Linked DNA regions of Homo sapiens: regions 2, 3, 4, 5 and 6 are each linked to region 1. The links are contacts of gene promoters, found by promoter capture Hi-C in human tissues and cell types (Jung and others, 2019). All regions are on one chromosome and are shown on one strand. The core of a region is centred on a gene start or on the middle of the fragment in contact, and the rest is flanking DNA. Distances in the headings are between cores, read along the strand shown. Region 1 holds the start of ZNF76 (zinc finger protein 76). Region 2 overlaps ANKS1A (ankyrin repeat and sterile alpha motif domain containing 1A). Region 3 overlaps ANKS1A (ankyrin repeat and sterile alpha motif domain containing 1A). Region 4 overlaps ANKS1A (ankyrin repeat and sterile alpha motif domain containing 1A). Region 5 overlaps ANKS1A (ankyrin repeat and sterile alpha motif domain containing 1A). Region 6 overlaps TCP11 (t-complex 11).

The links. The method cuts DNA at HindIII sites, captures the fragments that hold promoters and counts their contacts. A contact is called where the count stands out against the background at its distance.
Region 2: a contact is called between a fragment that was not itself captured here and the fragment with the promoter of ZNF76 in region 1, in 3 of the 25 tissues and cell types used here (bladder, mesenchymal stem cells and mesendoderm cells).
Region 3: a fragment that was not itself captured here is called in contact with the fragment with the promoter of ZNF76 in region 1 in 2 of the 25 tissues and cell types used here (dorsolateral prefrontal cortex and mesenchymal stem cells).
Region 4: a contact is called between a fragment that was not itself captured here and the fragment with the promoter of ZNF76 in region 1, in 1 of the 25 tissues and cell types used here (aorta).
Region 5: a fragment that was not itself captured here is called in contact with the fragment with the promoter of ZNF76 in region 1 in 1 of the 25 tissues and cell types used here (mesenchymal stem cells).
Region 6: a contact is called between a fragment that was not itself captured here and the fragment with the promoter of ZNF76 in region 1, in 7 of the 25 tissues and cell types used here (IMR-90 fibroblasts, adrenal gland, bladder and 4 more).

What each region holds. Positions count from the first base shown.
Region 1 is chr6:35,257,225-35,262,450 of GRCh38, forward strand. ZNF76 (zinc finger protein 76) reads left to right here and starts at 2,511. Exons shown (of 14, transcript NM_003427.5): 1 at 2,511-2,617. It overlaps SCUBE3-AS1 (SCUBE3 antisense RNA 1), which reads right to left and starts at 2,231. Exons shown (of 4, transcript XR_001744102.2): 1 at 2,066-2,231. RefSeq lists silencers at 2,494-2,613, 2,624-2,943. The HindIII fragment of the contact is 24,264 bases long and covers 1-5,226 here.
Region 2 is chr6:35,009,433-35,014,658 of GRCh38, forward strand. All of the region lies in intron 10 of ANKS1A (ankyrin repeat and sterile alpha motif domain containing 1A), which reads left to right. Among named protein-coding and RNA genes, the nearest start is that of ANKS1A, 120 kb to the left of the region's middle. The HindIII fragment of the contact is 8,554 bases long and covers 1-5,226 here.
Region 3 is chr6:35,026,521-35,031,746 of GRCh38, forward strand. The region is part of intron 11 of ANKS1A (ankyrin repeat and sterile alpha motif domain containing 1A); the gene reads left to right. Among named protein-coding and RNA genes, the nearest start is that of TCP11, 110 kb to the right of the region's middle. The HindIII fragment of the contact is 3,162 bases long and covers 927-4,088 here.
Region 4 is chr6:35,049,971-35,055,196 of GRCh38, forward strand. It overlaps ANKS1A (ankyrin repeat and sterile alpha motif domain containing 1A), which reads left to right. Exons shown (of 24, transcript NM_015245.3): 12 at 4,129-4,195. Among named protein-coding and RNA genes, the nearest start is that of TCP11, 89 kb to the right of the region's middle. The HindIII fragment of the contact is 3,342 bases long and covers 988-4,329 here.
Region 5 is chr6:35,069,933-35,075,158 of GRCh38, forward strand. The region is part of intron 13 of ANKS1A (ankyrin repeat and sterile alpha motif domain containing 1A); the gene reads left to right. Among named protein-coding and RNA genes, the nearest start is that of TCP11, 69 kb to the right of the region's middle. RefSeq lists an enhancer at 199-700. The HindIII fragment of the contact is 3,192 bases long and covers 1,091-4,282 here.
Region 6 is chr6:35,114,057-35,119,282 of GRCh38, forward strand. TCP11 (t-complex 11) reads right to left here. Exons shown (of 10, transcript NM_001370687.1): 9 at 5,172-5,226; 10 at 4,019-4,445. The coding sequence ends at 4,213. Among named protein-coding and RNA genes, the nearest start is that of TCP11, 25 kb to the right of the region's middle. The HindIII fragment of the contact is 6,471 bases long and covers 1-5,226 here.

The sequences.
Region 1 (5,226 bases), core at 1,261-3,760:
AACCCCGTTTCTACTAAAAATTAGCCAGGCATGGTGGCGCATACCTGTAGTCCCAGCTACTCGGGAGGCTGAGGCAGGAGAATTGCTTGAACCTGGAAGGGGAAGTTGCAGTGAGCTGAGATTTCGCCACTGCAGCACTCCAGCCTGGTTGACAGAGCGAGACTCCGTCTCAGAAAAAAAGAATGATGTAAGTCTTAGTTTAAGATGTCAAAATTTGAAATTGTATCCTCTATAAGTATTTAAATTAATGAAGGAAAATTTAGGTATCAACTTAAAAATGAACAAGAGGTACATAGCTCTTCAAAATTCTTTTATGGGTTCATTCTAAAAAATGTCTGAAGATCACCAGCCTATATGTTGAGTGGAAGGGATAGGAGAGAAACTGCTAGCAATGGTCTTCAATACTGCCCTCCAAAATATCCTCACCAATTCTCCTGAGAACCTGAAATTACCTTCCATTAGGATCATTACTTCAGATTCAGACACTGTTTCCCAGAGCTCTTGTTAAATGTATAATTGCAGAGGTGACTGGCCATCAGATTACGATCCGTAAGGAATGTGAGAAAAGACAGATATATATATACAGAGAGAGCTATGGAAAAAGGGTGGTTGGAGAGGGACAAACTCAGGTACAGCCTGAGTTCTATTCCCTGCGGTATTTCTAACCCTCAATTCATATTATAAGAGGAGCTACTTAATCTTCTCTCTGTATCTATAAGGTACTTTTTCTTTTTCTTTTTTTTTTTCTTTTTTTGAGACGGAGTCACACTGTTGCCCGCGCTGGACTGCAATGGTGCGATCTTGGCTCACTGCAACCTCCGCCTCCCGGGTTCAAGCAATTCTCCTGCCTCAACCTCCGGAGTAGCTGGGATTACAGGCGCCCGCCACCACGCCCAGCTAATTTTTTTGTATTTTTAGTAGAGAGGGGGGGTTTCACTATGTTGACCAGGCTGGTCTCGAACTCCTGACCTCGTGATCCGCCCGCCTCAGCCTCCCAAAGTGCTGGGATTACAGGCGTTTAAGCCACGGCGCCCGGCCTATAAGTTATTTTCTATGGGAAATAACTTGTCAAACTTCCACCAAAAAGGAATGGAAAGAGGGCAGCATAGTGGCCAGGCAGTTTATTTCCATACTAGGAGATACAGAAGGGATTAATTCTAACCGTAGGAATTCTAACCATCAAATGTCACTCACTGGCCTACCTAAACTGAACTCTGGTCCCAGCCAGAACAAGTCAGGAAGAGGGGATGTCTAAGACCGAAAGGGGGGCTTTCTAGTTAAGCTCTTCAGGCAGGAGAGGAAAAGGATGCCCGCATCCCCAAAGACACCTTTAGCTACCACAAGCCCCAAACCCCGTACTTTGTAACTGTGTCTAGTTTACGTCCTTTAAAAATTATTCTTATTAAGTTAAATTGTTTTCGGGGCGGGGAAGATACAAAAGAAACCAGTTAAAGTCTGAAAGGATAGAGAGGGGAAAGTTTCTCACCTCATTCTTCCAGCCACCCAGTTCCTCTCCTAAAAGGCAATCTTTACCAGTTCCTTCTCTAACGCCCCTCCTTTTTAATTTGATTTTTTACCGAAAGCTCGCTCCCTTTTAATTTTCCCTCAGGTTTCTGAAAATTTCCCAATCGCAGCCCCTCCCAGCAGGGAAATAGTAAAGGGGCTTGGTTTTTATGTTCAACCCAAAGCAAGCCTACAAAAGGGAGTAGTCGGTTTCGAGCCTGACGGTGGAGCTGACGCGGGAATGAGAGAGAACCTGAGAAGACCGCCAGGGCGCCCTCCCTGCGGAGGCGAGTCCCTCACCGCCCCTCTACATCGTCCTTTTCAATAAGGAGCTCTTAATACCTGCAACTGCTTCCTTCAAGGGGTGGCTGGAAGATCAGTAGGCAAGGCCTGCGGACTGCGCACCTTAAAGCGCTTCGGGACCGTAAGACAGTGAGTGCTGAGCGCGCGGCCGGGAAGAAGCCTGGAGGCTCTGAGCTCGGAGGACAGAGACCGAAGCCCCAGGGCCTGCGTCCCTCACAACCTGCGCCTCCTGTCCTCCCGCGCTACTCCCGAAGCGCACCTTCTCGCCCGCAGGCCGCAGAAGTGATGACGCAAAGCCCTCGGGGCCTCCGCCACCTCCTCACGCTTCTGCTGGACCGAATCCTTGGAATGGACAGGTAGCGGTTCCCGATTGCTATAGCGACGACCCGGCTCCGAGCCGCGCCCAGGCCCTGACCCGGGCGTCGTGACGTCAGCACGCCTTCCCTGGGCGCTCAGCCTCGCTGGCCATGCGTCACCCCGGCCTTGGTGGGGGCGGGGCTCCGAAGAGCTCGGTTCAGATCCCGGCCGCCTGGGCTCCAGGAGCCCCGGAACCAGGATAAGTTGGATGGCTGCCGCGGCGAAGCGGGGGGCGGGGTGGACCGTGCCCGGTATTTTCTATACGGGTTCCGGGGCCCGGTAGAGGCGCGCCAAGAGGAAAGGAAAGTGCGGCGGCCCTGGAACCTGGATATCGCGCGAGGCAAGCTGCGCGCGGGCGGGCGGGCTATGGCGCAGGCGGGTTGTGGGGCCGGCGCTGGTGGCGGGGCCCGGTGCATGGCGGTCTGTCGGCGGAGTCGCCCTCGGGGGCTGTCAGGTTGGTGGCTGCGGGAGGAGTGGGCCAACCATGCCCAGGGCGGGAGGCCGGGCGGGCGCAGGACCCCGGGAAGGTCCCGAGCCCGGCGTGCCCACCTCCCTCCGGCCCTAGCAGGGCGGCCTGGCCGCTGGACCGCGGCCGGGCCCCCTCCCCCACCCAGGGTCCCTGCCCCTCTTTTCCGCCTTGCGGCTCCTCCCCCGTGACTCCCAAACCTCACCCCGTGACGGCGCCCGCCTCCACCCTTGTGACCCCACACCCCACCCACTGACCCCAAGACCTCACCAGGTAACCGTTGGTTATTATTCATTGGCTGCTAACCCAGGAATTTCCCCAGCACTTCTCAGAGACCCACCAACCAGTGACTCCCTCAGTTTTAATCCGGTGACTCACATGACCCTGAGATCCCCACACTCCTCCTTAGTGACCCCCAAACCTGGGTAACCCTCCTGGCCCAGTAACCCCCCCGATTCTACCTTGTGTTCCCCACAAACTCGGTGACTCCCCTCAAAACTCTGCTGGCGACTCCTAAGCCCTACTCCAATAGTTTTCCACGCACTCACCTTGTACACAACCCTCAGTATCTTTATCCTGTAGCCGTATGACCCTCGTTCCACGTCTGCCTTTATCCTAAAATCACCCCCACTGGCATCTCTCTCTGCGATCCCAGCCCTTCAGTGTCAATCAGCACATGACTTACAAGCGTCCAGCACCTTTCTGGTGCTAAGGAGGATATAGAGATTAATATGAAGTAGTAATAATTGGAGGCATCAGAGAATTCTGGATCAATCCAGAATCCAGTCAATCCAGTGTGTGGTCCCAGCTCTGTCACTGCTGTGCTTTAGGGACCTGTGAGAAGTCCCCTCCTCAGTCTGGACCTCAGTTTCTCATCATGACTGTGATGAGGTTGGGTTAGATGATCTTTGAGTTTCCTTCCGTCTGTGAAATTGTGAAATTATGCAGTTCTCAGTCAAGATAATAATTTTTTGCAATCATTTTTGTACCCCACCCTGGAAATTTCCTCTTGTAACCTCATCCCAGGATCTGCTTGCATCATGAACCTTACTCCCTCATTCCCGGATCACCCTCTTCACTCTTCATAGTGCATACCCATTTCCCTTGATCAGGCCCCATCAGTTAACATGTTTGCAAAGCAGTATAGCAGAGTGCTTCATTTGGGGGCATTGAGTTCATAACAAACCTAGGTTCCAGACTGATTCTGGCCCTTCAGCTATGGGACTTTTGGTATATTATTTAGCCTGTCTTAACTTCAGTCTCCACCTCTGCGAAGGGAGAAAATAGTAGTGCCTGACATAACATATGTAAAGCACCGGGCACCATGCCTGGCTCATGGGAACCCTTAGCATAAGCTGTTGTTAGAAATGAGAAGCTGCTATGGATCTTACTCTGTCCTGAGTGCTAGGGATTTAACAGACTGAACATGTGGCCCATACCTTGCATTATGTTGCTACTACTGACATCTTGGAATCCCTATCTTCTCATCTCTGCTGTAGCCTCACTTCTCTGGTTCTTACCCTGATTTTGCCTCAATAACGATTGGCTTGCTGAATACCTACTGTGTGCCAAGCTCTGGATATATAAGTTAAATTTACGTCTCAACAGCCCCAAGAGTTAATTATTATTATATCCACCATTTTCCCTTCCCATATTTTTGTTTGGTTGGTTGGTTGGTTTCAGAGAAATGAACCAGAAACTCTCACAGCTAAGTAGCAGAGCTAAGATTTGAACCCACAGTTTAAAAAAACAAAACAAAACCCTACTCCATTGCCTGTCTTTCCCCCAGACTTACTCAACCTCAGCTCCTTATTCCTTATTTTCTAGTAATTCCTAAATACAACATCAGCTCGTTCCTTGATCCCTAAGGTTTCTGTTCTTGAGCTCCTAGCCTCAAGAGATCCTCCCACCTTAGCCTCTCAAGTAGTTGAGATTATAGGCGTGAGCCACCAAGACTGGCCCTGACCCCCAAGGTTTCTATTACCGTTTGCCATGTAACTTGGTGACTTTCTCATCCTGCTGTTCATGACTTTTGATCTCATATCCCCTGAAGCCCCTGCACCTTGTAGGGGAGGGAAAATATCTTCTTAGGTTCATGGCTTAGGCCCCTATAACAACAGATTTAATAAGAGAAGATTATATACATTTATTTAATGTAAGTTTTATGTGACAGGAGCCTTCATAAGGAAATGAAGACCTAAAGAAATGATTAAACTTGTATATTTTTATACTAGATCTGATGAAGAGTGGATAGTTGTGGAAAAATACAAAAAGGGTAATATCAAATAGTAATAAACTGGGAGAAACTTAGCAAGGCCTGTTTGTTCAGACTCTTCTCTGTGTCCCTGTGTCTTCACAGATAAGGGTGCTTCTTTCCTCTGAGTATAGGGAGGGCACCTCTTTATGAGGAGGGTATTATGACCTGCTTCAGGGGAAAGTCAGAAAAATCCTTCCTAGGTTTTGTGATCTGCTTCAGGGGAGAAGAGCCTCAGAGAAAGTGAGAGTGACCTTCCTACTGCCATTTTCTCAAGTTGCCATATTTTGGAGTAGTGTCTTGAACCCAGTCAACTTCTCTCTTCATCCTTTGCCCAAATATC
Region 2 (5,226 bases), core at 1,776-4,275, 250 kb before region 1:
TTGAGGGATGATATTAAATCCGGTTTCAAATGTGTTAAGTTTGAGGTGTTTTAGGTACCAGAGAACATCCAAGTGAAGATACTTCATAAACACTTGGAAATATGAGTCTGATGAGAGATGTGAAGGTTAGAAATACAGATTTAGGAGTCATCCAAGTTGAGGTGATTCTTAACGTTAAAGAGAACCCAGGCTGGGCGCGGTGGATCTTGCCTGTAATCCCAGCACTTTGGGAGGTTGAGGTGGGTGGATCACTTGAGGCCAAGAGTTCAAGACCAGTCTGGTCAACATGGTGAAACCCCATCTCTTCTAAAAATATGAAAATTTACTGGGTGTGGTGGTGCAAGCCTATAATCCCAGTTACTTGGGAGGCTGAGTCATGAGAATCATTTGAACCTGGGAAGCAGAGGTTGCAGTGAACCAAGATCACACCACTGCACTCCAGCCTGGGTGACACGAGCAAGACTCTGTCTAAAAAAAAAAAAAAAAAAAAAAAAAAAAAAAAGTCCATTGCTGAGAGACGAGAGAGATTGAAGAGGTCCAAAACAGAACTTAGCCTGGGCAACATAGTGAGATCTTGTCTCTACGAAAATAAAAAATTTTTAAAAATTAGCTGGGTGTGGTGGTGTGCACCCGTAGTCCTAGCTACTTGGAGGCTGAGGTGGAAGAACTGCTTGAGCCCAGGAGGTCAAGCCTGCTGAACTCCAGCCTGGGCGACAGAGTGAGACCCTATCTCCAAAATAATAATAATAATTTTTTTTTTAAAGAGTAGAGCTTATGTTTAGAGGCACAAGGGGAAAGAAACATAGGAAGATAACTGGGATAATGCAATATCTTAGGAGCTAAGGCTGAATGTGACAGAAAACCCTCAATAACTCTGGTTGAACAAGATAGAAGTAAAGAGTGCTGGGCTCAACAACAGTTCATGACCATTAAGGACCCAGTCCCTTTCTGCCATCTCATGGTTCAAGATGGCTATCCAAGTTCAAGGCATCAGCATGGGAAGGAAGAAAGGGGAGAATGGCACTTTAAAGATAGTTCCCAAAAGTTACACATGCCACTTTCACTTATAACCCACTGGCCAGAACTTGGTCATGTGTTTACACCTTGCTACAAAGGAGGTGGGAAATAATTGTCTTTATTCTAGGTGGCTGTGAACCTGTCTAAAAGTCCCATAACCAAGGAAGGAAGGGGAGAGTGAGTACTGGGGGCAATGGACAAACAGTATCCATTGATCTAGAAAGAGCTAGAAGGATGAAAACTAGAAAAAGGGTTAGGCAGTTAGAAGGCCATTGGTAAAGCCTAAATGGGGTCTAATTTCTAAGGTAGGAGAGAAGTGATGAAATTACCCCCCAATTTTTACATGGTGTTGAGAGTAGTCATTAAAAAAGTTTGATCTGTCTTCTCGGGAAATTGGTGTGATTGTCCTCCAAAAAGTGCAGGTGCTGTGGGTAAAGATGATGGCTTAAAGAGAGCAGAAGAGATGAGGAAATCGATCTTACATAGTTTTCAAGAGATGAATGAAAAGCTCACTGAGCCTGGTAATCAAGCTGGCATTTGAATTATTGCTCTAGCACTTACTGGATGGTGACTATTATTTAGGGAATCATTTAACTTCTTTAAGCCTCAGTTTCTACATGTAGAAGGGATACTAATTCTTACCTCATGGTTGTTGTGAATATTAAAAAGAAAATGCTTGGCATAGTGTCTGGCACAGAAGGAGTAGTACTCAATAAGTAGTAGCTGTTGGAAGCCAGCTGAGTTAGGTGAATTGGTAGAGGACTCAAGTCAGTTGTTTCTTGAGTATTTAAAAGGGCTCAACATTCCAGCAACTGGAGAAGAGAAAGCAAATGGCTATGAATACCCACTACAAGAACTGGCAGAAGATCAAGGGGAGCAAAGACAGCAAATATGCTATTAAATTAGGCATGGTTAGAAATCGTGGCTGGTTGGAAGCTGATCCAGGCAAAGCTGGTATATTGAAAACTAGGGAAGTTTGGGGGCCAGAGGTCAGAGGTCCAATGACAGGTAGAGAACAGACGCTTTAGGAGTTCAAGAAGAAGGGGGAGATGTAATGAGGTAATCAAGACCAAGTCAATGTGAAACAGTCCGAAGTCCCAAAGCTGGGCTATACCTATGGGCCCCAAGGTGAGTACAGATGGCTCCTAATCTGAAGATTCTCCACTGTGCTATTACATGTAATCCCAAACCAAACTTATAAGAATACTGGCCTTCCCTGGCATTTGAGTTTTATTCTGCCTCTTTAAAAGGGCTACTCAGAATAAATCAGTCTCCTTTGCAGAGTCAGGAGAAGGGAAACCAGCCTCTCTGTGCAGTGTTAGCATGATGAGCTAAGAGTTCAGAAATGACTGTAAATGAAAAATGGTGATAATGATAGCAGCTATCATTTACTGAATGCTTCCCACGGGCCAGCTGCCATGCTGATTTCCTTTATGTTGATTATGTCATTGTATATCTTGTGACAGATCTTCAGGGTAGGGGCTATTTTTGTCCCTGTTTCAGAGCTGAGGAAGAAAAGGTTAGGTATTGGAGCTGAGACTTAAACCCTAGTGTGACTGAATCCAAAGCCTGTACTTTTAACCATGAGGCTAAAACCATTTCATCAAAAGCCTTTCTGCTATTCATGTTCTTAACATCATAGAACTGGTAGGGACTATAGAGAGGTCCTTTAATCACAGATTCAAACTAGCCTAAATCCCAAAGCCCTGGAGAATGCATCCCAGGCATTCATTTTTTGAAAGAGACCTAGAGAGGAAAAGTCACGGGGCTGGAACTAAAACATGGGCTTCTTGAATCCCTGTCTAGCTCTTATTCTATTTCTCAGGTTGCCGTGGACCAAAATGAACTCTCAGTCTATTTGTCTTATCAAATTGCAGTCTTCAGCAAGTGTCTGAATAACTTGGTCAGGACCTTCCTTCCAGGAAGAGCCTGGTGACCCTCTGAAAGCAGCCATGTACTTGGGAGTTCTCCTGCACACCCATGGTTTTTGATGCTCACTATAGTGACTAGGCAGCTGGAGGATTCCAATCCTAATGATACGGAGAACACAAAACAATATGAGACACTGGGTCCCCCAGCCTTCTTCTCTGGGCCTGAGGGGAGATTTGAATTAGCAACTCCTCACATGAGCTGCATTCTTTAGCCTTAATTTAAGTGGGCAGAGGTGAATGAAAATGTGTAAATGTTGAAGTGTTATTATTCAAAAGCCCTTGAGATCCCATAGCTCATCGTAGTAATTAAAATGCAGCACAGAAGACCCCTTGCTTCAGTAGCTCACAGGGTATAAGGAAAATGAATGAGGATCACAAGTTGATGGGATTGGGAATTAGCATGCTGGTGTGCCATATTGAGTAGAACAGCTGGCCTCGATGTATGGGTAGCATAAGAAACAGGCCTCCCTCCCTGTGTGCCACTATCTCCTTGTTTCTCTCCTAGAAGGGCAGACTGTGGGGAGGGCAGAGCTCGGGGAACATGGGAAGTAGTGTAGGAGAAAGGCCTAAGGGTCTCTTCTGCAACTTCACTAGTCCCTGGGCGTGAGGTTTGTTGCCCAGGGTGGTCTCTAACTCCTGAGCTCAAGTGATCCTCCTCTCTCAGCCTCCCAAAGTGCTGGGATTACAGGCATGTACTGCCACACCTGGCCCTTCTCTGCCTTTTCTAATGTATTTTTACTTCTCTGTAAGCCTGACAAGGTCTTATTTCTCCTTCAGTGCTCAGCTCGAAAGCTACCTCTTCTGAGAAGCCTTCTGGTTCGAAGTAATCAGGCTTTCCTTTTTGTCTGCCAAGCATATGATTTATGCCTGTCTTAAAGCATCTATTGAGGCAGACTTGGTGTCTTTATTTTTTTTATTTTTTATTTTTTGGTGAGACAAGGTCTCGCTGTGTCTCCCAGGCTGGAGTGCAGTGGCATGATCACAGCTCACTGCAGCCTTGAATTCCTGGACTCAAATTATCCTCCCATCTCAACCTCCCAAGTAGCTGGGACAGCAGGTGTGCACCACCACACCCAGCTAATTTTTAAATTGTTTATAGAGATGAGGTCTCGCCATGTTGCCCAAGCTGATCTTGAACTCCTGAGCTCAAGCAATCCTCCCACCACAGGCTCCCAAAGCGTTGGGATTACAGGCGTGAGCCACCACACCCGGCCTCTTTATCCTCATATCCACCTGGGTGCCTCCTGAGGACAGACACTTCATACATTTGTCCATGGGATGAGTGGTTACAGTGACAGTTCTGGGGCCTGTCTCAGAGTTTCTCACTTCAGCCCTCTCACCATATTACCTTCTGTCCCTTCCTTCTGCTGTTCAGAGTTATAAGGATGGTGAAGGTAATGAATGCTTGTGAAGTGCTTTATATCTTACAGAGTACTTTCATGTACCTTATCTTTGATGATCCTTGTGACAGACCTGTGAGGAACGGAGAAGTAGTTGGTCTCATCTGTGAGCAAAGTGTGTTGTAACGGACCCTGTGTGGAGGATAATAACAATTTCAACATCTATTGAGAGCGTGGCATGTGCTAGACACGGTTCTTAATGCATTACACGTATAATTTAATTACCGCAACAATCCCCCAATTAAGATCCCAGAATTGCACAAAGAAGTGATTTGCTTAAAAACTGCTTCTTGATCAGTATATTCTATTGTTAGCACCTTGTCCCTAAGAGACCTTATATTATCCTTACTTTGCAGAAGGAAGAAACCATTGAGTAATTCTTTTCCCACCCATTGATCTGCCAAAAAAAACTCATCTTGGCCTTGGATGTAGTTTTTAATGGGAACAAGAACACCAGCCTTAGGGTCTTGGATCTCGGCAAGCTTTTCAGATACCAAAGTGTCTTTCTTAGGAATTGCCTGGCTAAGTCATATGATTATAAGAATTTCTTTCCATCATTTCTTATATTCCACAAAATATTGGTGGATTGTGGTTTCTCTAATAGGATTATGACCCTCAGAGATTCTTCCTCCACATATTTCCTTCCTCCGTAAGTTTCCATTCTTTCCTTCTACCCACTTCCTTCCCCTTGGCATGTGTCTGGTATTGAGCCCTTGGCATCTGTCTCTCTTTCATCATTGATAGCTAGCATGAATGGGTGGCTGTTTCACAGGGCCTGCATTGTTGGCTCCCACAGCAGCAGTTAGAACATTCTCTGTGGCCTGGGTTCTGAGGTCCACCCAGGCAGTGTGAGCCAGGCTGGCCCCCAGTTCTGAGCT
Region 3 (5,226 bases), core at 1,258-3,757, 230 kb before region 1:
GATGGGAGTGGTTATGAGAACAATACAGCCAAGAACAGGATTAGAGGGTGCGGTGGGAGGATTGCTGCCGTTAGGTGAGTCAGCCAAGGAAGGCCCCTTTGAGGAGGACGTGAAGGAGCAAGCTGTGCATGCTTGGGGTGGGGAGGGAGAAGCATGAGTGGTTATTGGGCTACTTTCTCTTAATTAATTTCTCCTGTAAGAGAAATTTAAAATCCTACCCTACACTTAATATTGTCTTACAAATATACCTTATAACTTGACTTTTACTTTTAACTTCCTTTTTCTTTAGTCATGATTGCTACCTGTTGCCTTTCTCATCTTGGTTTTTTTCCTTGATTTCTTTATTTTAAGCTGTTGGGTGCATGCTTTTAAACATGCACATACCCACATTTTTAAAAAGCTATTGAACTAGAATGAAATCATAATTTCTCAAACTTGATCATTGTTCTTGTTGTCATCCTAGGCAAGGATGTTGGGTGAGTTCTGGCAGAGGGGCTGGGTTATAGGTCATTGTCTTAGGAAATGCCTTTCCATAAGCTCATTGCATACTCAAGGCAGAAATAAAATCTGAAAACCAGGATCACGAAGCAAAGGGAAGAGAATTCAAAATTACTAAGACCAGAAGATGGCCAGAAATCTCAGAAATGGGAGATCCAGTGAGGGAGGCCAACTGATTGGGTGTTCATGGAGGCAGGGAAGGTGAGTTGAGGGTATGCCACCACCACTTGGAACACAGAAATGGTGCTGATGTCCTAAAAGAGCACTCACCACAAATAATTTGCCCTGATGAATCTTAAATACATCCTCTCAGGAGCCAGGCCCATAGGTAATTACAACCAGTAAGAGAGGGAGATGCTGGTGGCCTCAGACATTCTCTGATCCTGGGTGGACTTAGGGGACATCAGGGTAGAGGGAGCTTCTTAGAGACCAGATATGAAGGTGGTCTGTGTGTATGCATGCACGCATGTGTGTGTATATATCCCAGAGAAGTTTAATTTGTTTAGAGATATGCTGTGTGGTCAGAGTGGCAGCCAGATGGTGGGGGATAGGCTTTTTATTATGTAAGACTCTGAGAAAACAATTAATCTGGACCTCATTTGCACTTCCTTTGAAATGTGTGACCCTCAGAAACAACACAGGGTCTTTTCCTGACCCCAGTGTTATGCCAGCATCCTCAAAGATGTGCTCTCTGATCTCAGCTCTGTGAGATGAGATCAGATCATGGACGACTACCCTCCCTGCCTAGGGCTCCTTTATCCTGCTTTCTTCTCCATAGATGTTCCCTTTTGATGCTACCAGGTGAGTAGCCAGTGGGTAAGAAGAATGTCTGTGGCCTGTAGCTGCTGGGCAGGGCCAAGATGCTGAGCGAATCTTTCCCAGGTATCCTACTCTTGCTCACAAGCTCTAATGACCCAGTCTCTGGCGCCACAGGGCCCACCTGTCCATAACTCAAGGCAGCCTGTTTTATTTGCCTGGACAGGTGGAAAACTGCCTAAGCTCACTAGGTGCCTACAAATGACAATTTATCTGGCAGTCTGTTCTTGGCTGTCCTGATTTAAACAGGCAAGAAGCCATTGTAAACTCAGCTGAAATGTTGTGGTTTGTGTAAATGTTCTGGTTCCTTTCCTTTCCACTTTGGATCTAGTTATTTTCAACAGAACTTCCCCCAAAAGCATGGAAGAGCCTTATATCCATTATGCAGTGGGCATACAGTCCTGGTTTTGCAGCTTGGGCCCTCTGTACTGGGCCAAAGGACAGTGAAGAGTGCCGTGGAACTTGGGTGCAGTGGCAGAGGACTGGCATCCCATCTTCACACTGTACTTCAAGGGTGGAGATCTCCCAGCCTCAAGGTCATAGGCTGTTTCTGTGTCCTTGGAGGGAATATATAGCTTAACCTCCATATCTAACTGTATGTAGAAATCTAGGCAAAGCTAACCCTAGAAATGGAATGTTTATACCTTAGGGATTTTGTATTTTTAAAATTATAATACCTGAATCTAGGTGAAATTTTAAAGGTACCAAAGACTATATAGTGAAAAATAAGTCTTCCAGATTTTCAGTTCTTCTCCCTGGTGTTTTGAATATCCTTCCAGAAATATTCTCTGCATGTAGAAGCATTTCTGACATGTTAAGCATTTTTCTTTTTAAAAGACAAAATGGTGCTGTCTCATGTGTACTGCTCTGAACCTTGCTTTTTTCATGTAATAGTAATTTTTTGAAAATCATTCTAATTGAGTACATGAAGTTTTCTTTTTTATTGTTCATAATATTCCATGGTGTGCATATACTATCATTTATTTTTGTTTCTTGTAGGTGGACATTCTACATGTTACCAAGCTTTTACTGATTAAAGCATTGCTGCAATGCAAATCCTTGTACAGAGTCATTGTAAGATGTTTCTAGAAACTGAACAGCTGTGTGAAAGAGTTTGTGCGTGTTAAATTTACTTTCCTACCCACAACATGTAAACACCTTATCAACATGAGGGTGGTCAGCCTTTTAGTCTCTTTTTGGTTAACAGATTGGTAATGTTATCTTATCTTGGGTTAGTTTTAAAGTGTGTTTCTTATTATGAGTGACATTGGCATCTCTTTATATGTTTACAAAACACTACTTTCTATATTCCTTTTCTCTTTTTTTTTTAAACGTTGTTATTGAATTGATCTCTTTGTTACTAATTTGTAGAAGCTCTTTGTATTTGAGAAAAATTAGCCCTTTATCTATGATATGATTTGTCTTTTGGCCTTGTGGTATTTTTATGTTTTTTTTAACATGTGGAAATTTAGAATTTTTATGTAGTTGAATCTATCAATCTTGAATGACTTCTGCTTTTTTTTTTTTTTTTTTTGAGACAGTCTTGCTCTGTCACCCCGGCTGGAGTGCAGTGGCACAAACTTGGTTCACTGCAACCTCCATCTCCTGGGTTCAAGCTGTTCTCCTGCCTCAGCCTCCTGAGTAGCTGGGATTACAGGCACCTGCCACCACGCCCAGCTAATCTTTGTATTTTTAGTAGAGACGAGGTTTCACCATATTAGGCCAGGCTGGTCTGGAACTCCTGACCTCAGGTGATCCACCCACCTGGGCCTCCCAAATTGCTGGGATTACAGGCGTGAGCCACGGCGCCCAGTCGACTTCTGCATTTTGTATCCCAGTTAAGAAGACTTTCCTTACTCTAAGATTACAAATATATGTATATTATTTGTATATATACATTATATATATTATTACATATACATATATAATTACATATATAATATATACTTATATGTAATATACAAATATATATTATTTGATTACAAATCTATTTTTTATATATATATAGTTACATATTCTATATATATACACACACACAAACACATAATTTCCTCCTGATATTTTATGGTTTCATTTTTCAGGTATAAATCTTTGTTTCTTCGGAATTCATTTTGCTATGAGGAGTGCTAGACATCCTGTTGATTTTTAGCAACAATTTGATCTAGCCCACTATTTGATTCACTTTTCCTGGTGATGAAACTAAAGCTTTGAGAGCTGAAATGACTTGCCTACGGTCTTAGGGTTGATAAATGTGGGAAACCAGTTGGAACTACATCTTCTAAGGATTGTATTTAGAATATAGGTGAGCTAAACCTTTATTTCAGCATTAATTAGCAGTTACTTTTCATTTCCTCTTGTTTCAACCCAAATTATTGCAGCTTTATCTTACTTTTTCCCTCTAACTGCAGACAAAAATATTGGTCTTTGTGTATGAAGGAAAGCAACTTACGAAAGGAGTCTCCTGGGAGAAGCATGTGTTTCCTTTTTTACCGTAATATTAAGACTCAAAGCATTTCTTCCCTTTACTGCTCTCTAAGATGGGGGGCTGTTAGGTTTTTCTTTTGTGACTTGAAAAGTGAGGTGATGATTTCTGGCAAATTCTAAAATTTGGAATTTGGAAGGAATCCTAGTTACCATGTAGTCCAGCTCCCTTATGAACAAAGTCACTTCTGTGTTGTCTAAAAGTGACCTTCTTTACTACCGTACTTGACTGGTTTAAAAATAATAATAGTAACTAACTAAATAAATAAAAATGATCTTCCAACTTTTGCTTGTAAACCACAAGTAACCCCCTCTACCATCCACCGTTACGTCTATGAAATAATGAAAAATCCTTTCTCATATCCAGCTAAAATCTGTGACTTCCACCCCATCAATTCTGGTTTTACCTTCTTGGTAGGTCATGCATGCAGTCCTCCATAATAGTTGTTCAGATATTTGAAGCTGCAATTATGTCCTCCCACCCTCAAACCTTCTCGTTTCCTTGCCAGGCAGGCACGCCAGTTTCTTCTCTCTCACCTCAGATGGCTTATTTTCAAACTGCTTTTGTCCCGGCCCTTCGGTGAACATCCTCTTGAAATCGTATGACATTGTTACAGATGCTTGTACATAATGTACATTGCATGGTACACTATGATGAGATTTACATGTTGCAGGCCACCTGATAATGCTTCATCAAGGGGTTTGATGCGCATCTTAGTCTCCTGAAAACTTAAGGGTTCAATCTGTCCGTGAGCCCAAGTCAAAGACAGTGTGCACAATGCTTCCAGAGGTACCACACCTCCATCAGGAGGCCATACAGAAAGCGGTTCTGTGGAGTGGAGGTGTTTGTTGCCTTTTAAAGCTTTATCCTGTGATTTCTGCCCTGGAGATACAGCTCAGCCTCTTCCCTGTTGTGCTCTTTTGGCAAAATCAATGTAGCTTTTCCCCATGTCCCATCACATAACAGTGACTCTACCTACTCTCCACCTAACAGCGTAATCGCCTGCTCTGGGCCCATGAGACTTGCTCAAGCATTTTTTAGCAGCTACATGACTCACTATGACCTTAATTTGCAGGTAAAGATGCTTTTGTACCAATTTTTCATTTGAAATCAATAGGACAGATAAGGCCTGAGAAAGCCTATGTTGTCTAAATGACCCTGAGCCAGGCCTTGTAAAGGGTCACTCAAGTCCCCTTGTGCTCTTGACCAGAACCCTTCCTCCTCCTCCCCATTTTGTGCCAGTCGCCAGGGTTTCCTTCCAAAATCTCTCTCCTCCATTCAGACTCACGTATCTGGGATCCTCAGCGGCCACCACCTCAGTATCTCCCTGCTTGCCTTTGGGCTTCTCTAGCTCATCTTACTTGTGGCTGCCTTACCATGTTCCTCAAATATTTTGTGTTATCCTCCCTTGACTAAAAACATCCTTGCTT
Region 4 (5,226 bases), core at 1,409-3,908, 210 kb before region 1:
ATTTATTAAAAAGCTAGTTGTCATCTGCGTGGCTCTGCCGCCTGGTGATGGGGGATGGAGACCTCTCCATACAGAGCTCCACCTCCCATCCCCACCCCGTGGGCAGCCAGAATCCTGCGGTCTAAACAAGCAGATGTCAGATGGCCTGAGCAGCAGTATCTCCAGTGTTTGTTTTTGTTCTTGTTTTCAGCCATATGGGGAATACATTTTACACAGCCCTGGCAGGGAAAAATAGTCTAAACAGAGTCGTCCTGAAAACTTTTTGAAAATGGAGTATTTCCAAGCATTTTTTGAAGACAAGAGTCCATTATGGTGATAACTTTCAAGTCCTTATATTAACAAACACGAGTATAAGTTTTCAGTCAGTTCACGTGAAGTGCACTAATAAGGAAGCATGGCCATTTCTCATCTCTCTCCAAAAATGTCACTCATCCAAAACCACAGAAAAAGAGGAGAACACTAAATGGTGCCCGTCCATTACACTTAACCTGCCTCTTCCCCTGAAATGCAGACCATTTCTGGGAAAGCTGCCTGTTCAGATTTTTTTTTAACTTAAAGCTAGGAGGTTAAACTGCATGAAGTGTATAGATCAGAATGATATCTGCTGTGTCTGAACGCTCTTCTTTGTGTAGATTGAAATGATCTTATTTCCTCTCTGCTGGTTCTGGGCATGAGGGTGAGTCTGAGGCAAGGAGAGAAGATGAGCTCCGGCTTCTCCCCATCTGCACAGCTCAGGCTGAGGGCTTGGGCAGACCACAGCTCCAGACACTCTGTGGTGCCAGGGTGGGGACCTGCCAATCTCTGCCCAAACAGGACCTCTTCGCTGCCATGTCCCTCCTGGCCCTGAGCTTCCACCAAGACAGGTTCCAGTTGCTGAGGAAGGAGTCCAGGGTTACAGGCTGTGAGTCCATTGCCGAGGACCCTGAGTTTTTCTGGAACTAGAACCAGCTCAGCTTGACTTAGCCATGGCAGTTCACAGAACAATAGAACAACTTCCTAGCCTGGGCAAAATCGTCCTGAGAGCATCCATTAGCATTTCCCAGCCGGTCTGCAGTCTGGAACACCTCACATGGATACCCGGGTTTCTGGGTCAGGCACCTGTAACCCCAGTGCTTTGGGAGGCTGACGCGGGAGGATCCCCTGAGCCCAGGAGTTCAAGGTTTCAGTGAGCCATGATTGCGCCACTGCACTCCAGCCTGGGTGACAGAGCAAGACCATGTCTCAAAGAAAAAAAAAAGAAAAGAAAAGAAACCTGGGCTTCTGCTGGCCTATGTCAGTTGACTAGTGGGTGACTCCTGGGGCAAGCAGGAAAGAGCAGAGCGGAGAAGCAGCGAGGGTGCTCAACTCTGTTCACTCTGATGCCAAAAGGCCCTTCGGCAAAATTTCACAAATTGTACCACCAACGGATGCTGATTGGACAGGCCAGCTGGGGCTTCGGATGTTAAGTGATTATGGTGATAATGAAATATATAATATGACTTTATTTCAGAGGATACCCTGGAGTCACCCCACCATTTCAGCCCTTTCCTTCCCCAGCACGCTGCATGGCCGTGGAGAACAGCTTTTCCAGTGCAGACTCTAAAGAAATGGAAACTACACTTTGGTTCATTCACAGATTCATTCAATAGGTTCTCTATTTACCATGTGCCAGGCCCAGCGGGTGACAAGGCAAATAAAATACGCTTGATGCCAACCCTCATTGGTGTCTACAGTGTTAAGCTCTGCGTGTGAGTAGAATAGAATGCGGAGAGGCAACTGGGAGATGGGTAAGGGAGACTTTTCTCTGAATAACATTTTGTATCTTTTGAATTTTGAATCATGTGAATGTATCAAAAAATAAGTGTAAGTAAAAATATTTTTACAACTTTAAAAATAGGTTTTACTGGACTGGAGCACTCAGAGGACAACAGAGCGGAAGTGGAAAGCAAACTAACCTTTTATTGAGCATTTACTGTGAGCTAGACCTTCAGCCAGGTGCTTTATGTACATGATATCTTTTAATCCACACAACCCTGGACAAAGGCAGTATCATCCTCATTTTTATCCATTTTAAATGGAAGCTTGCCAGGTATGGTGGCTCACACCTGTAGTCCCAGCACTTTGGGAGGCCAAGGCAGGAAGATCACTTGAGCCCAGGAGTTTGAAACCAGCCCAGGCAACATAGTGAGACCTTATCTCTACAAAAAAGAAAAAATAGCCAGGTACAGTGGCTCATGCCTATGATCCTAGCACTCTGGGAGGCCAAAGTGCACAGATCACTTGAGTCCAACAGTTTGAGACCAGCCTGGACAACATGATGAAACCCCGCCTTTACAAAAAATAACAAAAAAATTAGCCGGCTGTGGTGTTGCACGCCTGTAGTCCCAGCTACTAGGGAGGCTGAGGTGGGTGGATCACTTGGGCTCAGGAGGTCAAGGTTGCAGTGAGCCGTGATCACACCACTGCACTCCAGCCTGGGCAACAGAGCAAGACCCTGCCTCCAAAAAAAATAAAAATTAAAAAAAATAGCAAGGCATGGTGGCACCTACCTGTCGTCGTCGTCTTAGCTATTCAGGAGTCTTAGCTATTCAGTGGGAGGATCACTTGAGTCCAGGAGTTTGAGAGCAGCCTGGACAACATAACAAGACCTCTTCTCTGTTAAAAAAAAAAAAAAAAAAAAAAAGAATAATAAAAATAAAAATAAATGGAAGCTTTGGGAGGTCTGGGGAGTTTCCCTTGTATCATGCTGCCCCTGCTGAAGGAGGCAGCACTTGAAACAGACATGGCCAGAGAAAGAGATGGGGGTGGAGGGAGGCGTTTTCTTCAAGGGGCAGAGCCAGCCTGCTCTGACACTATCCTTCCTCCCTGTGCCTCTGGGCTGCTGGGGCCAGTGTTTAGAGACACACCCTCAGTTTGCTGCAGGGGTCAGATTCGTTTCCCTCTGCCTTGCTGAGCTCAGGGAAGGAGCTTGCAGTCTGGTTAACAGGCAGTCAGATGACAGCCTGAGCCAGCAGTCGATTCTGTGGCTGGAGGAAGATACCTCCCCGAGCCCCCAGCTGCCCAAGGAGAGATGGCGCTTGCTCTGTGCTCTTCTGCTGGGTGTCAGATGCACGGCTTTGTCTGCCAGCTGAAGGCTGGCTGGAGAATTGTTTTTCCAATTGTCTGACCCAGGCTCCTTACTTGCACTTAGAGGAAAAAGCATCCAAGCCCTGGTACAAAAGGTCCTCTTTTCATTCCTTTGGAAAAAGAGCAGTGAATGAGCTCATTATCACTGCAACCCAAAAAGGAGGAGGAGGGGAAGAAGAGAAGGTGGCTGCTCCCCACTGCCTAGTTCTGCCCCTGGCCAGGTTTCCTGGGGAAGGGGGCCTGGATCTGGCCCATAGTGGCCAAGGCCAGATGGCTGGGACAGGTGGTCCATACTGGGGGCAGCGCTGGAGCCATTGGATGCTTTGAAACTAGCTTTCTCTGCTGTGGTCCAGAAGAGGGACAGGTGTCTGTGCCCCGTCTCATCTCCTGAACGCAGAGCTCTATCCAGGACTGCTGGACTCCAAGAAGCAAAAGGCCTTCCATTTGGGCCTAAGTGCCTGCCTCACCTTTCCTTCCCAGAGGTTTCTGTATGCAGGCGCTCTAGAAATCATCCTCACTCCCCAGAGCTTGTGGTCATACAGTATCAGTTATCTGTTGAATGCTTATGATTTGCCAGGCACTACCCTAGGCACTCAGGGTAGCATGGAACAAAGCCGGCAAAGTCTTCACTCTCATGGAATTGAAATTCTAGCGTGAGCAATGAGATGGCCAGGTCTGGCCTGTGATTGCAGCCTCTCCCCAGTCTCTGCTGGTCTGGGAGAACTGCTGGGGAGTGACATAGAGATGCCTTGAAAGGGAGGCTCTTCAGTATTTCTAGCAGCTAAGCCCAGACTGTCACCATCTCACTCCCTTCAGAGCAGTACATCGGACCCTGTGGGCTGGGGCCAGAGAAGGCCTCTCTTAGACCTGAGCAGCAGAGTCCTGATACCTTGCAGGCTGGTGCTGGTCCTGGGAAGCATCTGAAAGAGACCTGGAGGTCAGACCCCACTGGCGCTGTGGTGAGCTGGTAAGGTTTACCCCAAGCCTGACTGCCTCTCCTCTTTGTTCTTTCTTCCATTTCAGATTGAGAAAATCATGAGTTCTATTGGAGAAGGGATTGACTTTTCTCAGGAACGGCAGAAGATCTCAGGTACCGTACTAAGTGGCCATTTTCCCCACAGAAACTGGCAGTCTGGCTCTTTTCTGGCTCAGGCTTTCCTCTAACACAGAAGACAGACATTCAGTGGGTGGGAGAGGTCAGCTTCAGACCACGTCATGCTCCTATAATTCAGTCTCCAATACCTAGACAGCCCCATCTTGCTGTTATTTTTAGAGCCATGACTCCTTTTACATATGGGAGGGGAAAAGGGACAAAATGAATTTTAAGCTGCCTATTGGGAAAAATTTTTAGATCAACAATCGTAACTTATTCATTATTTTATGGGCTTTCTTAGATGGGCTTAAATCAGAGTGCACCTCAGCGTTGGTCTCTGCAGCTTCCAAGATGGCTCTCAAGAGTCTCATCCGTGATGGTGGCGGAGCACTGGGTTAGACCAGGGGTCTCAGACTCGTAGCATGCATGTGAATTGCCTGGGAGGGTTGACTGTGCTGTTTCCTCTTCCCACAGCTCCTTGTGCCTGACTCAGTTTACTTCATCACTTACCATTCTTACACTGTATCACTGCTACTTTGGTCATTCTTTTCTAAGCCCTAGTAGTGAGGCCAGCTTCTGTTCTCTTTGTTTGAAACAGGGAATGGGGAGGCCATCTGAGCTGTTTTATCTGATGATAGGATTGTGCTGTGTTGCTTTCTCAGGCGAGATGCTCTTAAAGATGCCTCTCAGAGCAGATCTCACACCTCTCCCCCAAGCATCCAAAGATGGTCTGGGCACTGGGGCATCCAGGCTGAAAGCAGCCCAGCTGGGAGCCTGGCCTGTCTTCACCTTCATGGAAATGCCTCTCTGCCCTGAAGGGGTGGAAATTCTTGCTCACTCAGGAGGCTCCATCCAGGATTGACCTGTCAGTCTCAAGTGACACCTCTAGTTCCTCCATGGGCTTCTGTGGCCCTGGGCAGGAAGTCTGATGGGTGGGCTTGAGTGTGCACATCAGGGAGAAAGGAACATCAGAGACCACGGGGCCTGGTGGGGACGGGCTGGGCTCTGGAGCCTCACAGCCCTGGGTT
Region 5 (5,226 bases), core at 1,437-3,936, 190 kb before region 1:
AGGAGAATCGCTTGAACCTGGGAGGTGGAAGTTGCGGTGAGCCAAGATTGTGCCATTGCACTCCAGCCTGGGTGACAGAGCAAGACTCTGTCAAAAAAAAAAAAAAAAAAAGAGACTGGGTGTCTCACAATGTTGCTCAGGCTGGTCTCAAACTCCTGGGCCCAGGAGGCAGTCCTCCCAAAGTGTTGGGATTATAGGCATTGAACCATTGCACCTGGCCCTACAGGGGCATCAATAGTTGTCACCTGTGTTTAGACTATGACTGGTATTGGTGGCAGTGTCGTCATTTTCAGCTCTTGCAGTCTGGTGCCTCTCTGCTGGGTCTTCCACCAACTCTTTCCCAGCTTAACCCCCATCTTCCTAGAAAGCCTCCTTTCCCATCTCACCCCTTCCCTTTCCAGGTCTTTTTCCGATCCTGAAGAGACTAGCTGAGAGTCTAGCACCTCTCAAAGGTCTGAATAGAAAACACTTACCATCTATTGCCTCTAAGGGTGAATCACCTAGGACACCTAATCTACATAATAGGAACCTTGGTCCCCACAAGCCTTTATCTTTTTTTTTTTTTTTTTTTTTTTTTGAGACAGTCTCACTCTGTTGCCCAGGCTAGAGTACAGTGGTACAACCTCGGCTCACTGCAAGCTCTGCCTCCCAGGTTCATGCCATTCTTCTGCCTCAGCCGCCCGAGTAGCTGGGACTACAGGTGTCTGCCACCACGCTAATTTTTTGTATTTTTACTAGAGATGGTTTTTCACCGTGTTAGCCTGGATGGTCTCAATCTCCTGACCTCGTGATCTGCCTGCCTCGGCCTCCCAAAGTGCTGGGATTACAGGCGTGAGCCACCGTGCACAGCCCACAAGCCTTTATCTTAACCCAGACACCCCTTTCTTTTTTCTTTGTGTGTGTGTGTGTGTGTGCGCGCCAAAGATTTATTTCTTCATTTCTTGCATTTGAAGGACTCTTCGATGACATCCTTGGCCTGAGACTCCTTGCCATAGTCCTTAACTACTACACAACTGCAACCAACCACTTTCCAGGGTTTCCCCTCTCTGTCTATTTTACAGAGGCCTGCCCATTCCCCTAGTTTCTTGTTGTCATCAACCTTACTTAGGTTGATTTGCCAGACACCTCTTTCTATTGACTCCAGGCCTTTAGATAAACTCTTTCAACTAGTTGCCAATCAGAAAATCTTTGAATCCACTTGTGACCTGTAAGGCCACCACCCCCAAACTTCAGCTTTGAGTTGTCCCTCCTTTCCAGACTGAACCAGTGCATACCTCACATATATCGCTTGATGTCTTGTGTCTCCCTAAAATGTATGAAATCAAAGGGAAGGGAATCCTCTATAGAATGTAAATTTCCCCCACAAGAGGCAGCTTTGCAGGGCCATTTCAAAATATGCTAAAGAAATATATTTGGGGGTAAAATACTTTGTTTCGGGGCTGCTGTCTGTCATGCGATGCCATACTGGAGTCAGGTTGGCACTCGGTGTCTTGTTGCTACAGAGTCCGCTGGGTCAGTCTTAGGATCTCTGCTTTAATGATAATGTGGGACTGTTGTGCCTGAATTCCACAGGGAGGAGGGTGTAATGAGGCAGGTCCAATGCCCCTACCCATCATGGCCTGAACCTGTTTTTCAGGTTTCTGTGGGATCCCCTTGGCCTAGAGGGGGGGTCCATTCAGTTTCCTGGGGGGCTGATGGTTTTATTTTTGGTTCATACCGCTGAGGTACCAGATGCTGTCTGGCAGAGCCACACCCCCTGAGCTGGCCACACGCTCCCAGTCAGAACTTCTCTGCGGTTTGGATGTGTCAGGGTCCTGTTTCCAGAAGATCCGTTAAAGTCAAAGCAAACTCCTACCTACCCCGGCCTCGTGGAGCCTTCCTGCGGTCCTGCCATTTGCCCCATCCTGTAGACAGGGCTGCAGGAAGCAGCCCAGCCAGCAACCAGTGTGGAGGGAGAGGGAGTCCAAGGCCCAGGCCGGCCCCTCCCCATCTGGGGCTGCCCTGCAACCCTCAGTGGTAACTTAGGACAGCTCCTATTTCCCCTTTGGCTAAAAGGGTCTACACCAGTGTGTCACCACTCCCAAACAGTCCCCTTCCTGGGCCTTTGCCACTTTGTTGAATGAAGACCTCACCTGCAGTTAAGCAAAATATTAACACGTGAGATGCCTTTCAAGATGCAAAAGGATATTTTCCTTCTAAAATCACATGGGCAGGAAGGCTCTGAAGATGTTAGAGCCCCAGTGGACTGGAGAAAGCCAGGAAGAAAGCAGTGTGGGTCCTGCAGTAGCCCCTGCCGCTTCTCCTGCCTCCTGCTCTCCCAGGACGCCCGGGGCCGACCCGGGCCGACCCTTGTCATGCTCCTTCCGTTCGCCTGGGCCTCCATGCTTTCAGCTACCTTCTGCATCTTCAGGTGGAGCCCAGTGACAGATACTCGCAGGAAGGAGAAAGCATTCAAATGGCTTAGGTTGATGGAAAGTGACACTGATTACAGCCACCATGGTAGACGCTTCACGTGTACCTTACCAAGGAAGGGCACCCAGCCACGATCATGGGCGACTCTACAAACCCAGCCCCTTACTGAACTCCAATAGGCCAGGCTGGCTTCTTCCAGAGTCAGGCTGGCCCTTGGCACAGTGCCCGTGCTATGTATCCAGAGGCCTGGGCCCACATCCTGACCCTGTTTCTCCCTTATTGGAGGCCCTGGCATTTCTGAACCCACTCACCTCTAAGAATTGGATTCTGTACAGTTAAAGGAACAGTGTCCCTTCCCCGAGAGGTGGAGAAAAGGTGGCCAGGAGGGAGAGGGTCCTGGGAGGAGCATTTATGCGCGATGCTGAGAGATGGGATTCTACGGAGGGAGGCAGCATTGGCTCTCAGCTCAGCAGGGGCTGTGCCCCAGCCCAGGACGGGTGTCCTGCTCCTGCTGTCTGGCAGGCGTCTGCCCGCACCCCCACACTTTGCTTTTGTCTTCAGTACACCCTGCCTGCCCCAGCAGGAAGAGCCGAGGAAGACGACTGGGGTTGGTCAGATGGGGCCTGAGCAGTCCCTTTGCCATGCTCTAGTACCATGGCCTTGGATAAGTCCAGTCTGCTCTCCAAGCCTCAGTTTCTTTCTGTGTAATGTGAGCAGCTCCTATCTGAAAGGTTTATTGGGCGGATTTTTGCAGGTCATGGGTGTGAAGCCCCTAGCACAGTGCTGGACTGTGGTCAGAACTCAGTATCACTGGCCCGCATCTTCACTGTGAGCCCAGGACAGGCCACACGTCACACGTCACCTCCCACAAAGCCCGGCAGAGGGTGCCCAGGGAACTCTTGTTATGCCCAGAGCTCAGTGACCCAGGGGAGCACTTCTTGCTGTCCCCTTCCCTTGAGTTCTCCAAAGCAGGCCATGGCCATGATCACAGGCTGAGGAGCCAGGCCGCCAGGGGCCATCCTGGCTCTGCCTCTTCCATGGGAGCACTTTTTCCTCTGCAAAGCGGGGAGCAGTCGGACACCTGCCGGCGATATGAAGTCTGAGCGAGTCAGGACAGGGGGAGGCCCAGATCCCAGGCGAAGATCAGTGCTCTGTCCCGCCTTGGTTGCTGGGAGCCCTCCTGTCCCCTCTTCCTCAGGGACTGGACCCAAACCAGGCCAGGCCGGAAGACTAGTTGTGTGTTTCAGATGTCACTTGGAGTTGTGAAGCTTTTATCAAAGCTGAGACAATCCCTGTTAACTAAAATCCCTAGGACAATGAACTGTTGTCCTTTATTCACTTCCTAATTATAGAAGTGTCCTGCCATGTAGTAAGTACTCAGTAAATGTTAGCATGGTAGCAGATAAAGTAGAAAATCTCTTTTCCCCCATGACCCTCCTTGTGAAGAGGTTTCTAAAAGCCAGTGGTCCCTTCTCCCTGAGTAAAGAGGGTGTGGTAACTTCCAGAAACGTTTCTTGCCCTTTGAGGATATGTGGCACTGAGTAGTCACCACACAAGCTCATCCCCCGGTGCGGAGATATGGCTACTTCAGGAATTGGGAGGACCCCGCGCTGCGCCCGGAATGTGCTCTGGCAATGGTTTGCCTTTCTTTTCTGTCATTTCCTTTATTTTTGTGTGTTTCCATTCATCTCTTGTTCCTCAAAGCTGCACACAGCCCGCCCTTCTGCTGGCCAAGGTCTGGTTAGCAAAGGGCCTGTCTCCGGCGGATCTGGCTTTCCTCGCTGTCAGCCTTCAGGTGCCCTGAAAGCTGGCGAAGGTTTCTGAGTCAATGCTGGGGTTGAGTGGGAGTTTAGAACATCACTGCGGTGCCGCAGTCACTCTTGGACGTCCACGTCCTCTTGGAGGTTTGAGGCAGGCTCAGCTCAGCCGTTCGCTTTGGTATCCTCATAATCAGGTAGAAAGTCTGGGCCGGGGCCAGGGGCAGTGGTGCACACCTGTAATCCCAGCACTTTTGGGAGGTCGAGGCAGGAAGATTACTTGAGCTTAGGGGTTCAAGACCAGCTTGGGCAACATAGTGAGACCCCATCTCTACAAAAAAAAAAAATAGCCAGGCATGGTGGTACATGCCTATGGTACCAGCTACTTAGGAGGCTGAGGCAGGAGGATCACTCGAGCCCAGGTCAAGGTTGCAGTGAGCCATCATCACACCACTGCACTCCACTTTTAAAAAAAAAGTCTGGGAAGGCGGCTGCCTCTCTCTGCCTTTCTGCAACAGCAGACGTTAGATTTGGTCCCAGAGCCACTGTAGGAACTCTGTGGTGACTCTCAGATTTGGGGGTGACTTGGCTGGCCTCAGACCTGGAGTGGTGCCCAGGCCTCGCTTGTGCCCAGCAAGGGGTGTGTTCTGCAGGTGGAGCAGAGTAGTGGGCTTCCAGCCTGGCTTTGGGGCTCTCTTCACCTGGGCTCTCTGAAGCTTAAGTCTGGCAGTGTCCTCTGTGGGACAACGTTTATGTCACCATGCACAGGCTCTGGGGAGACTCCCGTGGCCAGCAGTCACCACACGGGGCGGGGGCCAAGCAAGTCATGGTCTGCATGAGCTGGCCCAAGTCACTTAGCTTTTCCAAGTGTAAAGTAATGCCCACCACAACAGAGTAAAAGTCCAGAAAGAGGCCCAGAAATACACAGGAATTTCAGACACCATAGAGGCCATTCCAGATTGGGGGGAAAAGATAGCTCATCAAGAAATGGACAGCTTGCTGCCAGGGCAAAAATAAGGTTGGATCTTGACTCTTACACCTTACAGCAAAATAATTT
Region 6 (5,226 bases), core at 1,786-4,285, 140 kb before region 1:
CCAACAGCATATTAAAAGGATTATGCACCATGATCAAATGGGACTTATCCCACAAATGCAGTATTGATTCAATATAAGAAAAATCAAGGCCGGGTGCGGTGGCTCACGCCTGTAATCCCAGCACTTTGGGAGGCCGAGGCAGGTAGATCACGAGGTCAAGAGATCGAGATCATCCTGGCTAACACGGTGAAACCCCGTCTCTACTAAAAATACAAAAAGAAATTAGCCGGGCATGGTGGCGGGTGCCTGTAGTCCCAGCTACTCGGGAGGCTGAGGCAGGAGAATGGCATGAACCTGGGAGGCGGAGTTTGCAGTGAGCCGAGATCGTGCCACTACACTCCAGCCTGGGCGATAGAGTGAAACCCCATCTCAAAAAAAAAAAAAAAAAAAGAAAATCAAACAACATATCATTAATAGACTGAAGGAAGAAAAGCATATGATTATCTCAATTGATGCAGAAAAAGCATTTGACAAAATCCAAGGCAAAGTGTGGTGGCTCATGCATGTAATCTCAACATTTTAGGAGGCCAAGATGGGAGGATCTTTTGGGCCCAGGAATTTGAGACCAGTGTGGGCCACACAGTGAGACCTCATCTCTACAAAAAATACAAAAATTAGCCAGGCATGATGGCACACGCCTATAGTCCCAGCTACTCAAAAGGCTGTGGCAGGAGGATCACTTGAGGCCAGGAGGTCAAGGCTACAGTAAGCCGTGATCGCCCCACTGCACTCCAGCCTGGGTGACAGAGCGAGACCCTATCTACAAAAAAAGAAAAAAAAAAAAATCAAACAAAAAACTCAATACCGTTTCATGATTAAAAAAAAAAATTGTGAGCAAACTAAATAGAAGACAACTTCCTCAACACGATAAAAGGTATTTATGAAAAATCCATAGCTAACTGTATACTCAATGGTGAATGACTGAAAGCTTTCCCCCTAAGATCAGGATGCAAGACAAGTGCTTTTATCACTGCTATTAGACATTGTACTGGAAGTTCTAGCCAGAGAAATTAGGCAAGAAAAATAAATAAAAGGGATCAGAATTAGGAAAAAAAAATGCAAAACTATTCCTATTCTCAGATAACATGATCTCATATGTAGAAAATACTAAAGAATTCACAGAGTATTTGATATAATAAACTCAGTGAAGTTGCAGGGTACAAGATCAACAAACAAATTGGTTTTACTTTTATACACTGCCAATGCACAATACGAAACAGAAATTAAGAGAACAATTCTATTAACAATTACATCCAAATGAATAAAATACTTAGGAATAAATTTAACCAAGGAAGTGCAAGGCTTGTACACTGAAAACTATAAAAGGTTGCTGAAAGAAATTAAAGACCTAACAAAAGGAAAAGACATTCTGTGTTCATGGATGGGAAGACAAGATAGCAATACTCCCCAAATTTATATATATATATCTCCTTATCAAAAATTCCAACTTCCTGTTTTACAGAAATGGATCCTAAAATTCATATGGAAATGGAAGGGATAGCCACATAATCTTGAAAAACAACCAAGCTGGAGAACTTATACTTCCTAATTTCAAAACTTACAAAGCTTACAGTAATCAAAACAATATCTTACTGGCATAAGGATAAACATATAGATAAATGGCATAAAATAGAGTCCAGAAATAAACCCTTGCATATATGGTCAATCGATTTTTGACAACAGTCAAAGACCAAGACCATTCATCAATGGGAATAGGACAGTCTCTTCAACAAATAATGCTAGGAAAACTGGATGTCCACATACAAAAGAATAAAGCTGGATCTGTTCCTTACACCATATACAAATACTAACTCAAAATGGTAGTTTCTCAATAAATTAAGCAGGGATTACCATAGAACTCAGCAATTCTATTCCTGGATATATGGGTAGACACTCAAAAACATAGAAGACAGGTGTTCAAACAAAAACTTATGTATGAGTTTTGTAAATAACGCCAAGTGTTCACTGTGGCATTGTTTACAAAAGCCAAAATGCTCAGCTCTATATGTTGAAAGGTACACATAGCCAGAGAAGAGAAAACTAAGGGCTTGCTGGCTTCTCAGCTAGTTGAGGGCTGAAGTCATACCCATGGACTAATGAGTGGATAAGCAAAATGTGGTATATTCATGTGACAGAATATTACTTAGCTATAAAAAGAATGAACTACCAATACATGCTAGAACACAAATGAATGTTGAAAAATGAGTGAAAGAAGCCAGTCACAAAAAGCTACATATTATATGATTCCATTTATAGGAAATATTCAGAGTCAGAAAGCCCATTGAGACAGAAAGATTAGTGGTTGCCAGGGGAAGGGAATGGGGGAAAATGGGCAGTGACTGGTTACTGGAATGGGATTTCCTTTGGTGGTGATGAAAATGTTCTAGAACTAGTTAGTCGTGATGGCTGTACAACATTCTGAATGTACTCAATGTCACTAATAGCTTTCATATTACATGTATTTTCTCCACAATTTAAAATACAAATATACATTTTTTTAAAATTCCCTCAAACCAGTGGGCAGGATTGAATGGAGCTATCTTTCCTTGTTTAGGGACAAGATCCCTGTCTCCTCCATGAGAAAGCATAAGAAAATAAATTCAAATTTTCTAAGGTACTGATGAGTCCCTATTTTAATTGTGAAGTACAAAGCAAGGTTCTATTATCAGTCCAGGGTCTGCACCTGCCAACTGGACAATCTTCTTCCCAGGAATCCCTTCAGAGTACTTTTACCTCTAAAATAATGAGGTTTCCAAAACGTGGATTTTTTAAAAATTCAAATTAATAGTTACAAATCAGAGAATCCAACTGGGCAAGCCTCACTGTTTATTAAACATACCACTTTATCTGGGCTTCCCCATCCTGAAGCTGTCTAGTTATAAGACGAAAAATGCAAATGATCCAGGCCCTCCAGCTTTTCTAGTCATAGTAAAAGTCACATTGTGTTGATCTAGCTCTGTCACCTACCTAGGATCTACCCTCTAAAAAAGGAAATCAATTAGAAGGAAACACTGGGCCTAATGGAACTCAAATCCCCCTTCTGTTGTTCTTCCTAGATTAGGTGTGTTAACACTCAGCAACTTCCATCACCTAAAATGATGAGAACATTGTTTTTCTTCACCTTGCCTTGAGAACACATAATTGAATTTCCATTTTCTAAATCTGAACTGAACATTTTCTTCATTTCAGCCATACTAGGTTGGAGCTGGTCTGCTGCAGTCAGCCTGAAAATGAGTTGGTCTCTACAATCTCAGGAGACAAGCCCAAATCCTTCCTAGAACCTCTCTTATTTGTGATGCCAACAACAGCTTACAACCACAACTGCCCAGAATGGAGAAGCCAGAAGGATGGAGGCTGCTCCACCTCTGAATGCCCACATCACCTCTGCCTGGAAAAACCGGGTGTTCTAAGCTTAGAGATGAGGGAAAGGAGACTTACTGGGCTAGAGAACAGGACCAGAATAAACTTGATACAAGTGAGTCACAGACCTAACTGTCCAAGTCTGAACTCTGGATAACTTGAGAGAGAGGTCCCATGAACTCTGAACTTGTCCTCAACAGAATGCTTGCTTGTAGCCAATATCCATTTTCATCCAGCCCCGGGTATGCATATTGCTTCAGACCATGCAACAGAAGAGGAAACTAAGGCTCTTAATATCCCTTGACTTCTTGTTGCATTCTCTGAAACCTTTAGGGAAATTTGGTCCTAGAAATGAACTAACTTCCCTAAACCATGTCCTCTCCTGAGGTGAACTGGACAAAACAAAGGCTTCCAAAAGAAACCCTTATATTCACAATTTGGATAATTCCAGAGGTCTAAGAGCTCCCCAGGAGTAATGCTTTACCCTTAAAGAAAATAAGGCTAGCACCTGGGTATCTTGGCTGTTCAGCTCTATATGTTGAAAGGTACACATAGCCAGAGAGGGGAAAACTGAGGGCTTGCTGGCTTCTCAGCTAGTTGAGGGCTGAAGTCATTAGGGCTTGGCCTCAGCTGCAGCACAGGAAAAATGGAGGATTTCTTGCACTTAAGAAGTTTATTAATGAATGGGTATGGACCAGTTGGTGTTTACATGCTTGATCCCTACAGCCTTGGTGTACTGGCTGCAGGGCCTGGGATAGAAGCTCACTGTCTGCTGGTCACTGGTGATGTTACTCCAGGAAGATGATGGGCCTCCTCTTGGGTCCAAGGTACCAGGGCTCTGAGCCGACGCTATCAAACAGACTCCACTTTTGTTTCCAGTGCCTGGGCTGGGGAAATGAGGGTTTTTAGGATCTCAGTGTAGTAGGGACCAAACACCTGCTGATTGTGATGTGTCAAGTTGACAAACTTTTGGCCCAGTTCTGCCAGTTCTGCTTCAATGAGAGTAAGGCCTCCAGGAAGGTCTAATAGAGACCGCTGCACACCAAGAACCAAACAGCATTTGAGAAACAAATGGATCCGCTGATCTGTGAGCAGGAAAAGACACTGATAAGGGAAAAGGCAAACAGATTTCAGGGAGAAAATTCCCCCTGCACTCTACTCACCCATGTTCTAAGTTAACAGATATGTACCAACCTGCCCCCCTACCTAGAGATAATGAAATTTGTTTTGTTTGGAAAGGGGGCTGCTATCTTGCTCTCAAGGACAAATATAAAAAACTAGTGTGTTAGTAAATTTCAGATTATTCAAAAGATTGTTTAAGTAGCCATCAGTTAGATCCTAGTGAGTGTTTGACATAACAGGAGGAACTTAGACTGATCCTTCAGATGGCTAAGGTTAGGAGCAGGCTGGCCAAGTTCATGGCCTCCACTCCAGCATGAGGGTAGGGGATTCCCCACTATAGGAACATGTCTTCCAGCTAAATTCAGCATTAGTTTCTTGTTGGGAGATGGGGGAATGTCAGATTTCTTGGGTGCCATCAGAGAATGACCTGTAGGCCCAAGTGACTTAACCAGGTCGGCTGGACATATCCCACACCTAGAAGTCATGAATTTCTGGGTGCAAATCATCCTGAGAACCACAGTTAGTCTTTAAACTGAGACGGATATGATTTCAACCCAGCATTTTGAAAAAAATCAAGGCTAAACAATGACGTACCTAATGACCATGCTTCATGTTGTTAAAGGTTGGGGTTCCACGGTTGGGATCTATCTCTTCCCTCACCATTCTTACTACCCCACAAGCATACTCACCAATAACACTGCAGACACAGTTCTCCTTCTTGGCAATGTTCTGGAGCTGTCCCAT